4 separate regions of the Homo sapiens genome follow, and regions 1, 3 and 4 are each linked to region 2. The links are contacts of gene promoters, found by promoter capture Hi-C in human tissues and cell types (Jung and others, 2019). All regions are on one chromosome and are shown on one strand. Each heading gives the region's core, a stretch centred on a gene start or on the middle of the fragment in contact. The rest is flanking DNA. Distances are from core to core; before and after follow the strand shown.

Evidence for each region. The method cuts DNA at HindIII sites, captures the fragments that hold promoters and counts their contacts. A contact is called where the count stands out against the background at its distance.
Region 1: the fragment with the promoter of ZNF844 here is called in contact with the fragment with the promoter of DHPS in region 2 in 1 of the 25 tissues and cell types used here (spleen).
Region 3: the fragment with the promoter of ZNF20 here is called in contact with the fragment with the promoter of DHPS in region 2 in 1 of the 25 tissues and cell types used here (stomach).
Region 4: a contact is called between a fragment that was not itself captured here and the fragment with the promoter of DHPS in region 2, in 1 of the 25 tissues and cell types used here (dorsolateral prefrontal cortex).

The regions. Positions count from the first base shown.
Region 1 is chr19:12,063,396-12,066,095 of GRCh38, forward strand. It overlaps ZNF844 (zinc finger protein 844), which reads left to right and starts at 1,336. Exons shown (of 4, transcript NM_001136501.3): 1 at 1,336-1,481. The coding sequence starts at 1,479. RefSeq lists an enhancer at 1,421-1,510 and a silencer at 1,601-1,780. The HindIII fragment of the contact is 18,413 bases long and covers 1-2,700 here.
Region 2 is chr19:12,680,510-12,683,209 of GRCh38, forward strand. It overlaps DHPS (deoxyhypusine synthase), which reads right to left and starts at 1,371. Exons shown (of 9, transcript NM_001930.4): 1 at 1,051-1,371. The coding sequence starts at 1,257. RefSeq lists cis regulatory regions at 602-1,102, 1,128-1,662 and enhancers at 1,022-1,545, 1,186-1,480, 1,546-2,068, 2,592-2,700. The HindIII fragment of the contact is 10,903 bases long and covers 1-2,700 here.
Region 3 is chr19:12,139,054-12,141,753 of GRCh38, forward strand. It overlaps ZNF20 (zinc finger protein 20), which reads right to left and starts at 1,297. Exons shown (of 4, transcript NM_021143.4): 1 at 1,127-1,297. The coding sequence starts at 1,129. It overlaps ZNF625-ZNF20 (ZNF625-ZNF20 readthrough (NMD candidate)), which reads right to left. Exons shown (of 8, transcript NR_037802.1): 5 at 1,127-1,272. RefSeq lists a silencer at 874-1,083. The HindIII fragment of the contact is 9,607 bases long and covers 1-2,700 here.
Region 4 is chr19:11,868,726-11,871,425 of GRCh38, forward strand. It overlaps ZNF439 (zinc finger protein 439), which reads left to right. Exons shown (of 4, transcript NM_001348719.2): 4 at 1-761. Among named protein-coding and RNA genes, the nearest start is that of ZNF69, 18 kb to the right of the region's middle. The HindIII fragment of the contact is 4,163 bases long and covers 1-2,700 here.

The sequences.
Region 1 (2,700 bases), core at 86-2,585, 620 kb before region 2:
TTTCTGGCCGGGCACGGTTGCTCACGCCTGTAATCCCAGCACTTTGGGAGGCCGAGACGGGCGGATCACGAGGTCAGGAGATCGAGACCATCGTGGCTAACACGGTGAAACCCCGTCTCTACTAAAAGCACAAAAAATTAGCCAGGCATGGTGGCAGGCGCCTGTGGTCCCAGCTACTCGGGAGGCTGAGACAGGAGAATGGCGTGAACCCGGGAGGCGGAGCTTGCGGTGAGCCGAGATCGCGTCACTCACTCCAGCCTGGGCAACAGAGCAAGACACCATCTCAAAAAAAAAAAAAAAAAAAAGCAAAACCAGAATTTCTTACTTATTTTGTTTTTTGGTCTCACTCTGTTGCCCAGGCTGGAGTGTACTGGTGCAATCACAGCTCACTGCAGCCCTCGACTCCTGGGCCAAAGTGATTCTCCTGCCCTGGCCTCCTAAAGTGCTGGTATTACAGGCCCCAGCCACCTTGCCTGGCCTCTTTCCAGACTTTTTTTGTTTTTGTTTTTTTTGAGACGGAGTTTCATTCTTGTTGCCCAGGCTGGAGTCCAGTGGCATGATCTCGGCTCACTGCAACCTCCGCCTCCCAGCTTCAAGTGATTCTCCTGCCTCAGCCTCCCACATAGCTAGGATTACAGGCGTCCGCCACCACGACTGGCTAATATTTTGTATTTTAGTAGAGATGTGGTTTCACCATGTTGGCCAGGCTGGTCTCGAACTCCCGACCACAGGTGATATACCCGCCTCGGCCTCCCAAAGTGCTGAAATTACAGGCGTGAGCCGCCGCGCCCGGCTTTCCAGACTTTTAAAAGTGTCAGACTCTCAATTTCTCCCGGATCAGGGAAAGGGAAAAGGGGAGAGGGGGCATGGCTTCACTAATGGAAATACTCCATAGACGCAAATTTCACCCCCCAGAAGACAGTTGTGCAAGGGCAAAGCTGCAGCCATTCGAAATTGCCAAATAAATATATTTTGGAATAAAATATTTTAATTGCTTTCACCTCTATTAAACATAGAGTCTGGAACTCCCTGCACACACTTATGACACTGTGCAGGACGAAGAAGCAGGGACAGACCATTGACAGAGCCACTTCTAGTAATTAAGACGAGCAAGTTTGGCCGAAATGCAAATTTTCAAAGAGCAGGGCGTAGAGAGGGAACTTGACCTTGGACTGTGGCTTGAAGCGGTCAGTCCTGCTCTGCTTGGCCCTGTTACCCAGGACTTCTGCTGTCACTCAGGATGCAGGGGGCGGGGCCTGGCGCTCCACCCAATCAGAGTCGCCGGGGTGGGGCCCGGCCAACTGTTTATCCGCGGGTCACATTGCCGTTCGCCTCAGTCTTTGGCCCCTCCCGCCGGGTGAGGTTGGCACCCCGTTTTTCCTGCTCTGAGAGGGACCGGTTGCCACCGCCATACTTCTGTCGCCCTGTCGTCTGTGTTGTGACTGCTTTGGACGTGGGAGTCACCTGAAAGCCAGGAAATGGTGAGTGTGAGCCCCCGCTGGGAGTCCCGAGACTTGGGGGAGGGTAGGCGGAGGCTGGTTGGAACTGGCTGGAACCGGCTGTGCCGGGACCCGGACCTCCCCGCGGCGACTCGAGGTCTGGGGCCCGAGCCCCGCTGGCGCAGCTCGGCCTTCGGTCCATTCGGCCGCCGGGTGCGGCTGGGCCGGCAGCCGGGACCCCTGGGCGCCCTGTCTCGTCGCCGCGCGGCGACTGCGGCCCCAGCCCGGGAGCCCTCTCTGGACAGCTCCGCGCCCGCAGCCCGGAGCCTCTCCATATTGTGCGGGGCCACGGGAGGGTCATGGGGGCAATCCCGCCTTGGGTGTGGGGCTCGTGCGGGAGGAGCTGCGCTGTGAGGCCCTCAGTGCCCCCTTTCTCCTGTTAAAACTTAAACAGGCCCGGTGCTGGGAATAGAGGCGTGAGCCACCGCGCCTGGCCTAGCGTGGAGAACTTGTGACAGCGGATAAATGTTTTCCCTGCTGTCTGTGGCTTAGAGCTTGGCAACTGCTGTCGTGTTTTTGTTCACATCATGATCAATGTGTACTAGATGCTTTGTTGTTGTAATCGCCTGAGGGGTTCTTCCTGCCTGTGCTGCAAAAAGAAAGACCAGGGCATTGCAGTAAAGAAAATGTTTGACACGAGATGGACCACGCAACGCCGAAGACGGAGACAGAGTTAGCACTCAAATCAGTCTCCCCGAAGGCTTATAGTTAGGGATTTTTCTTTAATATTTTTTTCTTACAATTTTTTTTTTTTTTTTTAAGACAGAGTCTCGCTCTTTTTTGCCCAGGCTGGAGTGCAATGACACGATCTGGGCTCAGTGCAACCTCTGCCTCCCGGATTCAAGCGATTCTTCTGCTCAGCTTCCCTAGTAGCTGGGGTTACAGGCACGCCACCACGCCCTGCTGATTTCTGTATTTTCAGTAAAGACGGGGTTTCACCGTGTTGGCCAAGGTGGTCTTGAACTCCTGACCTCAGGTGATCCGCCCGCATCGGCCTCCTAAAGGGCTAGGATTACAGGCGTGAGCCACCTGGCCCGGCTAAAAATTGTTTTTTAAACAAGGTCTCACTCTGTCGCCCAGGTTGGAGTGCATGGCGCGATCACGGCTCACTGCATCCTGGACCCACCTGAGCAGCAGCTCAGGTGATTGTGCTGCCTCACCCTCCCGAGTAGCTGGGACTACAGGCGCAGGCGGCTAATTT
Region 2 (2,700 bases), core at 121-2,620:
CACACGTTCAGGATTTGCCCCCACCCTTTTTTTTTTTTTTTTGGACGGAGTTTCACTCTTGTTACCCAGGCTAGAGTGCAATGGCGCGATCTCGGCTCACTGCAAGCTCCACCTCCCGGGTTCAAGCGATTCTCCTGCCTCAGCCTCCCGAGTAGCTGGGACTACAGGCGCGCACCACCATGCCCGGCTAATTTTTTGCATTTTAGTAGAGACGGGGTTTCTCCATGTTGGTCAGGCTGGTCTCGAACTCCCGACCTCAGGTGATCCGCCCGCCTCGGCCTCCCAAAATGCTGAGATTACAGGCATGAGCCACCGTGCCCGGCCTTTTTTTTTTTTTTTTTTTGAGACAGAGTATCGCTCTGTCACCAGGCTGGAGTGCAGTGGCGCAATCTCAGCTCACTGCAACCTCCACCTCGCGGGTTCAAGCGATTCTCCTGCCTCAGCCTCCCGAGTAGCTGGGACTACAGGCGCGCAACACCATGCCCGGCTAATTTTTTGCATTTTAGTAGAGACAGGGTTTCACCATGTTGGCCAGGCTTGTCTCGAACTCCTCTTCTCTTGATCCACCCGCCTCGGCTTCCCAAAATGCTGGGATTATAGGCATGCGCCACCGCGCCCAGCCAGCCCCCACCCTTTTAGGAATCAGAGAGCATCTCCTTTCAGATCCGGTCCCTTCCCCGCTGGGAAAAGCAAATCTAAATTCAAGAACCGCCCAGACTTAGGCTCCTCCTCCCATATCCTCCCTTAATTTGTCTTGCCCCAGGCTCCGCCCATTCCAGAAAGCTTTAAATGTACCTAGAACCCGCCCCCACACCAAGAATCAGTCCTCGCCTCCTCAGGTTACCGTACCAGCATGTAACTACCAGAGTGCAAAATCCCCTTCCCAGGACAGAAACTCCCGCCCAGAATAGGTCCCGCCTTCCTCCAACTATTGGGCAACTCAAATAAAAGACATATCCCCTCCACTGGAAACGCTGCCCCCGTCTAGTACCGCGTTGGTTCTACAAGCCACGCCCCTCCGCGTCCCTAGAAATTCCGCCCGGTCCTCACCATGGCATTGACTTGCTGTACAGCGCGCCCGAAGTTGGTTGCTTGGAAGCCGGTGGTGCCGAAGGCCTCCAGCAGTGCGCGGTAATTCACACCGCGGTTGAAGTCGTAGCCCCGGACCTGGGTGCTTTCGGGCGGCAACGTCGAGCTGTGCTTTAGCACGGCGGCCAGCGCCCCCGCTGGCGCCTCCCGTTCCAGGGAACCTTCCATGCGCCTATAGCCGGCTCTCGAGTCAAAGCTGCCCCTAGGCCGGGCTTACGGCGGCCCAGAAACGCGTTAAACCCCGACGCGCGCGTCTCCGCAAGAGCACAGGAAGTAGGGAACGTGCTTTGGGCGAAAGACCGGAAGTTGGTTTATCACGTGACCATTTTTAGCCCCTGTAAACCAGGTCGCCGCCATTTTTGTGCGTGTGTTCCGTAATACGGAAGCCGCGAGGAGCCTTTAGGCCCTTTCTTTCTTTTTTTTTTTTTTTTTTTTTTTGAGACGGAGTCTCGCTCTGTCACCCAGGCTGGAGTGCAGTGGCGCGATCTCAGCTCACTGCCAGCTCCGCTTTCCGGGTTCACGCTGTTCTCCTGCCTCAGCCTCCCGAGTAGCTGGGACTACAGGCGCCCACCACCACGCCCGGCTAATTTTTTTGTATTTTTAGTAGAGACGGGGTTTCACCTGGTCTCGATCTCCTGACCTCGTGATTCGCCCGCCTCGGCCTCCCAAAGTGCTGGGATTACAGGCGTGACCCACCGCGCCCGGCGCCTTTAGGCCTTTTCTTCCTTTTTTTTTCTTTTTTTTTTTTTTGATACAGGGTTTCGCTCTTGTTGCCCAGGCTGGAGTGCAATTGCCCGATCTCAGCTCACCACAACCTCCACATTCCGGGTTCAAGCGATTCTCCTGCCTCAGCCTCCCGAGTAGCTGGGACTACTGGCATGCACCGCCATGCCCGGCTAATTTTGTATTTTTAGTAGAGGCGGGGTTTCTCCCTGTTGGTCAGGCTGGTCTCGAACTTCCGACCTCAGGTTATCCGCCCGCCTCAGCCTCCCAAAGTGCTGGGATTACAGGCGTGAGCCACTGCGCTTCGGCCTTTACTTGTTTTCATGTGTTCTCGACTTCCCATGAATGAAGATTCTTTTTTATTTTTATTATTTATTTATTTAATTTATTTTTGAGACAAGAGTTACACGCTCTTGTTACGCAGGCTGGAGTGCGGTGGTGCAATCTTGACTCATTGCAACCTCTGCCCCCCTGGTTCAAGCGATTCTCCTGCCTCAGCCTCCCGAGTTGCTGGGATTACAGACACCCACCACCAGGCCTGGCTAATTTTTTATTTTTAGTAGAGATGGCATTTCACCATGTTGGCGAGGCTGGTTCTGCCCTCAGGTGACCGCCCGCCTGGGCTTTCCAAAGTGCTGAGATTACAGGTGTGAGCCACCGTCCCCAGCCAAAATTCCTATTTTAATGCCACCTGCTGGAGACCCACTGCTTGGCCCGGCACTCGCCCATTCGTTTCTGTTCTGTCCCCTCGGGAGGGGAGGATGGTTTTGTTGTTGTTGTTGCTGTTTTGTTTGTTTGTTTGTTTGAGCTAGAGTCTTGCGCTGTCTCCCAGGCTGGAGTGCAGTGGCACGATCTCGGCTCACTGCAACCTCCGCCTCCCAGGTTCAC
Region 3 (2,700 bases), core at 47-2,546, 540 kb before region 2:
TGCTATAAGAAACTACCTAAGGACACCAAAATCAAACTCAAATTGAGGCAGGAAAATAGGGTCTGGACGCAGGGAACATAAGGCCTATTCAAACTTCAGCTATGAAAGGAAATACCTACTCCATAGGGCGTAAGCCAAGTAAATGATTTTATAACCTTACTTCATCCTCTCCTTTTACATAGAGTATACCCCAAGTAACCAATGGAATCCTCCAGGGGGTATTTAAACTCCCAAAAATTCTGTAACGGGGCCTTTGAGCCCCTGTGCTCAGCCCCGCTTGCACACTGTGGAGTGTTAAATCCCTTCATTCCTTCCTTGCTTTGTGCGTTTTGTCCAATTCTTTGTTCAAGACGCCAAGAACCTGGACCCCCTCCACCGTTAACAAAATGCAATTCTTCTTAAAACTTTCTGGTACCAAAACCACAAATCATGACTGGGCGTTTCTCACTCATGAATCGCTGTTTGCTCAAACTCTTTAAATTTTTTTTTTTTTTTGAGATGGAATCTCGCTCTGTCCCCTAGGTTGGAGTGCAGTGGCGTGATCTCGGCTCACTGCAACCTTCGTCTCCTGGGGTCATGCGATTCTCCTGCTTCAGCCTCCTGAGTAGCGGGGACTACAGGCGCATGCCACCATGCCCGGCTAATTTTTTGTATTTTTAGTAGAGACGGGGTTTCACTGTGTTAGCCTGGATGGTCTCGATCTCCTGACTTCGTGATCCGCAAGCCTCGGCCTCCCAAAGTGCTGGGATTACAAGCATGGTCCACCGCGCCCGGCCCAAACTCTTTAACAGAAAAAAAAATCCGCAGGATTCCCCCATGACCCTCCCGTGGTCCCCGCAAAATCTGAAGAGACGCGGGGCTGCAGGCGCGGAGCTGCCCAGAGAGGGCTCCAGGGTCGGGGCCCACAGTCGCCCGCGCAGGAACAGAACAGGAGGACGCCCGGGGTCCCGGCTGCCGGCCCAGCCGCACCCTGCGGCCGAGGGGACGCAGGGACGAGCTGAGACAGAGGGATTCGGGTCCCAGATCCAGGAGGCGCGGCGAGGAGGCCCAGATCCCACCACAGCCGCTTCCGGCCGGTTCCACCCAGCCCCTCCCCCGTCTGGGGACTCCGGCCCCATACACTCACCATTTCCCGGCTTCTGGGTGTCCCGGTGTCCTCTCTAGGGCTCCCGTGAATAGTGCGGGTCACGGTGCAGGCGGCAGAGCGACAGAAGTTGTGGCAGAGGGACCCGGGGCCTCTCGGAGTAGGAAATCTGGTATCCCGACAACAACCTGCATAGCAACAAAAGTAGAAGCTGGAATGGGCCTCCTCCTTCCGGACGGACCGTTGGCCGGGCTCCGCCCCGGCGCTTCTGATTGGACAAGGTACAAGGCCCCGCCCCCTCAGAACTGAGTGACGGCAGAAGCCCTGGGTAACGAGCCCTGCAAAGCCGGACTGATCGGTTCTAGCCACAGCTTCTCTCTAAGGGACAACTCCTTCCCTGAGCCCTGGTCATTGGATATTTTCTTTTCAGCCAAATTTGCTCCTGATTTTTACACAGGGCACTATCTTCTTCCTCATTCAATGGGCTGTCAGTGCTTCTTCGTCCTGCACAGGGTTGTAAGTGTGTGCAGGGAATTCCAGACTGAGTGTCCAATGGAGCGATGTGCTGACCTCAGAGCAGGAAGGGGAGCCCAGATCAGGCCAGGCACGACTGCACCAAGAAGGAGAGGCAGTTGTCCTTCAGGGGCCCGGAATTAGGGATGAGACATGGCCAAGGCTTTCACACATCTCACCCCACCTCACAGTGTGGAAACTCTCCCTCCTTCCAGACCTTCATCTTCATCGGCAGAAAACTCTCACTTGGTGATTTTAAGCTTCTGACCTAAATAAACTGTCAACTGCATAAGCCCCTTCTCCAGGAGAGGTCCCAAACAGTTATTTCCCTGAACTTGATCTTTACGGATTTTCTTCAGATATGCAAATTACAGTCTGACCCCAGGGACTCTATGCATGTCAAACCCAAAACACTGCTCCCGAAAACCGCCCCAGATTCCAGATGTACAGCCGCAGAAAGGACAGAACTCCTGAAGTGCACCTGCACGTGGGTCTCCTGCTTTCCAGGGCGCTGCAGCATGTCAGAACCCACACTCTTTCTGGATCTGCTCTGAGCAGCTGCAAGCCACCTGCAGGGGAGGGCGGCTGCCCAGGAAGCACCCAGAACTCCACTTCACTCCTTGGCAGGATCCATACTAGCCTCAGCGTCCCGTCCCTGGCGTCGGTCTCTGCTGCCCCCTGCAGGTTATTCACCTGCTTCTCACATCATTCATCAGTTTCCATGAGACAAACATCCTCAATCCCACTGCGAGAATAACACACGAGCAAAGCTCTCCTCCAGTGTGTATGTATAAAGTCGAGGAGGAAGTGTCCAAGATTATTTAACTGCATGAAAGTGAGGCAGTAGTGGCTGGGCGCTGTGGCTCAAGCCTGTAATCCCAGCACTTTGGGAGGGCGAGGTGGCTGGATCACCTGAGATCAGGAGTTGGAGACCAGCGTGACCAACATGGTGAAATCCCGTCTCTACTAAAAATACAAAAATTAGCCGGGTGTGGTAGAGCCCACCTGTAATCCCAGCTACTCGGGAGACTGAGGCAGAAGAATCGTTTGTATCAAAGAGGCTGAGGTTGCAGAGAGCCGAGATTGCACCACTGCACTACAGC
Region 4 (2,700 bases), core at 14-2,513, 810 kb before region 2:
AACTCTATGAGTGTAAGCAATGTGGGAAAGTCTTCAGATCTGTCAAGAACCTTTCAATTTATGAAAGGACACACACTGGAGAGAAACCCTATGAATGTAAGAAATGTGGAAAAGCGTTCCATAATTTCTCTTCTTTTCAAATACATGAAAGTTGCACAGAGGAGAGGCGCCCTAAGAATGTAAGCATTGTGGGAAAGCATTCATATCTGCCAAGATCGTTTGAATACATGCAAAACACACACTGGAGAGAAACCTATGAATGTAAGGAATGCAAACAAGCATTCAATTATTTTTCTTCCTTGCATATACATGAAAGGACTCATACGAGAGAGAATCCGTATGAATGTAAGGATTGTGGGAAAGCATTCAGCTTGCTTAATTGCTTTCATAGACATGTAAAGACACACCAGAAGGAAACCCTATGAATGTAAGCAATGTGGCAAAAGCTTTCACTTCTTCCAGTTCTTTTCAATATCATGAAAGGACTCACACTGGGGAGAAACCGTATCAATGTAAGCAATGTGGGAAAGCCGTCAGATCAGCCTCAAGACTTCAAATGCATGGAAGCACTCACACTTGGCAGAAACTCTATGAATGTAAGCAGTATGGGAAAGCCTTCAGATCGGCTAGGATTCTTTGAATACAAATAATGAATGTAAACAATTAACTGTTTATAATAACTGTATACTAACAAATGTTATTCTTTTTAAATAATTAAGAAGCTATAATAAAATATCCATTGGTGTCATGTATTAGATCAAGCTTATAATGTTACATTGTTATTATTTGGATATTGTGAATCAGCATTACCTGGATTAAATGCCAGGCATATTTTTCCTCATGTAAACTTTACTTTTCATGCTTATGTACTTTAATTTTTATTTCAACTGTAATTTTTCTTTTTTTTTCCTTTTGCTTTTTCTTTTTCTTTTTTTTTTTTTTTTTTTTTTAGAAAGAGCCTCACTCTGTTGCCCAGGCTGGAGTGCAGTGGTGTGATCTTGGCTCACTGCAATCTCTGCTTCCCAGGTTTGAACAATTCTCCTTCTTCAGCCTTTTGAGTAGCTGGGACTACAGGCATGCACCACTTCACCCAGCTAATTATGTGTATTATTTAGTAGAGACGGGGTTTCACCATATTGGCCAGGCTGGTCTCGAACTCTGGACCTTGTGATCCTCCTGCCTCGGCCTCTCAAAGTGCTGGATTTACAGACATGAGCCACTGCGCCCAGCCTCAACCCTAATTTTTCTTTCACTCATAATACCAAAAGTTATCTCATGTATCTCTGAGTACCTTCTTGCCCAAAACCAGCAGCGCCATACCTGCTGTCAGCAAGGGTGTAATATACCATAGTGATAAATATGACCAGAAGACATAAATGACTGTGGGATGTATGAGAATTACAAGTCACATTGGTAAGAAGATAAAAATTTTCGTCATGTTTATGATTTGAAATATGTTTACTTCTATCAGTTTTAGAAATACAGTTACAAAATGCCCTTGTTTTTGTCCTGGTCCATCATGATCACTGAGGAGCATCATCTCATATGCCTGATATGTAACATGTGTCTCTCCAACAGTAAAAGACTTGGCCTTGGCTGGGTGTGGTGGCTCACACCTGAAAACCCAGCACATTGGGAGGCTGAGGCAGGCAGATCACCTGAGGTCAGGAGTTCGAGAACACCCTGACCAATATGATGAAACCCTGTCTCATCTAAAAATACAAAACTTAGTCAGCCATGGTGGCATGCTTCTGTAATCCTAGCTAGTCAGGAGGCTGAGAAAGGAGAATCACTTGAATCTGGCAGGCAGAGGTTGCAGTGAGCCGAGATCCCATCATTGCACTCCAGCCTAGTCAACAAGAGCGAAACTCTTTCTGAAAAAACAAAAACAAAAACAAAAACAACTTGGCCTTGTGGTGAGGGGAGGTCAGCTATAGACTTCTGGACCTGTTTTTGCCTTACTTATTCTGTAAAGACTAAAACATTTTCTAAAATGTATGGGCACTGTTAACTAGAAGGTACCTTAGTTAAAATATATAAATTCATTTACGCTTTATAAAGCTATATTTTTTTCAAATTGCTTTACTGAGTCATAGGAGGCTAATAAATTTGTGTAAATTGTCTAAATAAAAGCCTTTCTTCCTCTGATAATGTGCTGTTGATGCTAACTTGTCAACAGCCTGCTTATCTCAGCAGTGTAAAGTTAACGGTAACATGGAAAAGTCACTTTTATATATAATGCAATGGCTAGAACAATTCTGTCACTTCCTGTAAGGTCCAGTGAAGCTGCTCTTCAGAAACAGTTATTTAAAATCCTTATAGTCTAAATCTAGGCACCACAGGATGCAGAATCAATCACTGACCAAGCCCTGTCTGTGTGTGGAGGTGACACACCCAGTCCCAGATAATGTATCCACATCAGTGAAGGGAGGAGTCATTGATTGTCGGATCACACAAAGTAACTCAGAACAGGGAAGACAGGGCAGTGAAACCTGGCCAGGCATGGTGGCTCACACCTGTAATCCCAGCACTTTGGGAGGCCGAGGCAGGTGGATCACTTGAGGTCAGCAGTTCAAGACCAGCCTGGCCAACATGGTGAAACCCTGTCTCGTCTAAAAATACAAAAAAATAGCTGGGCATCATGGTGTGTGCCTGTAATCCCAGCTACTCAGGAGGCTGAGGCAGGAGAATCGCTTGAGC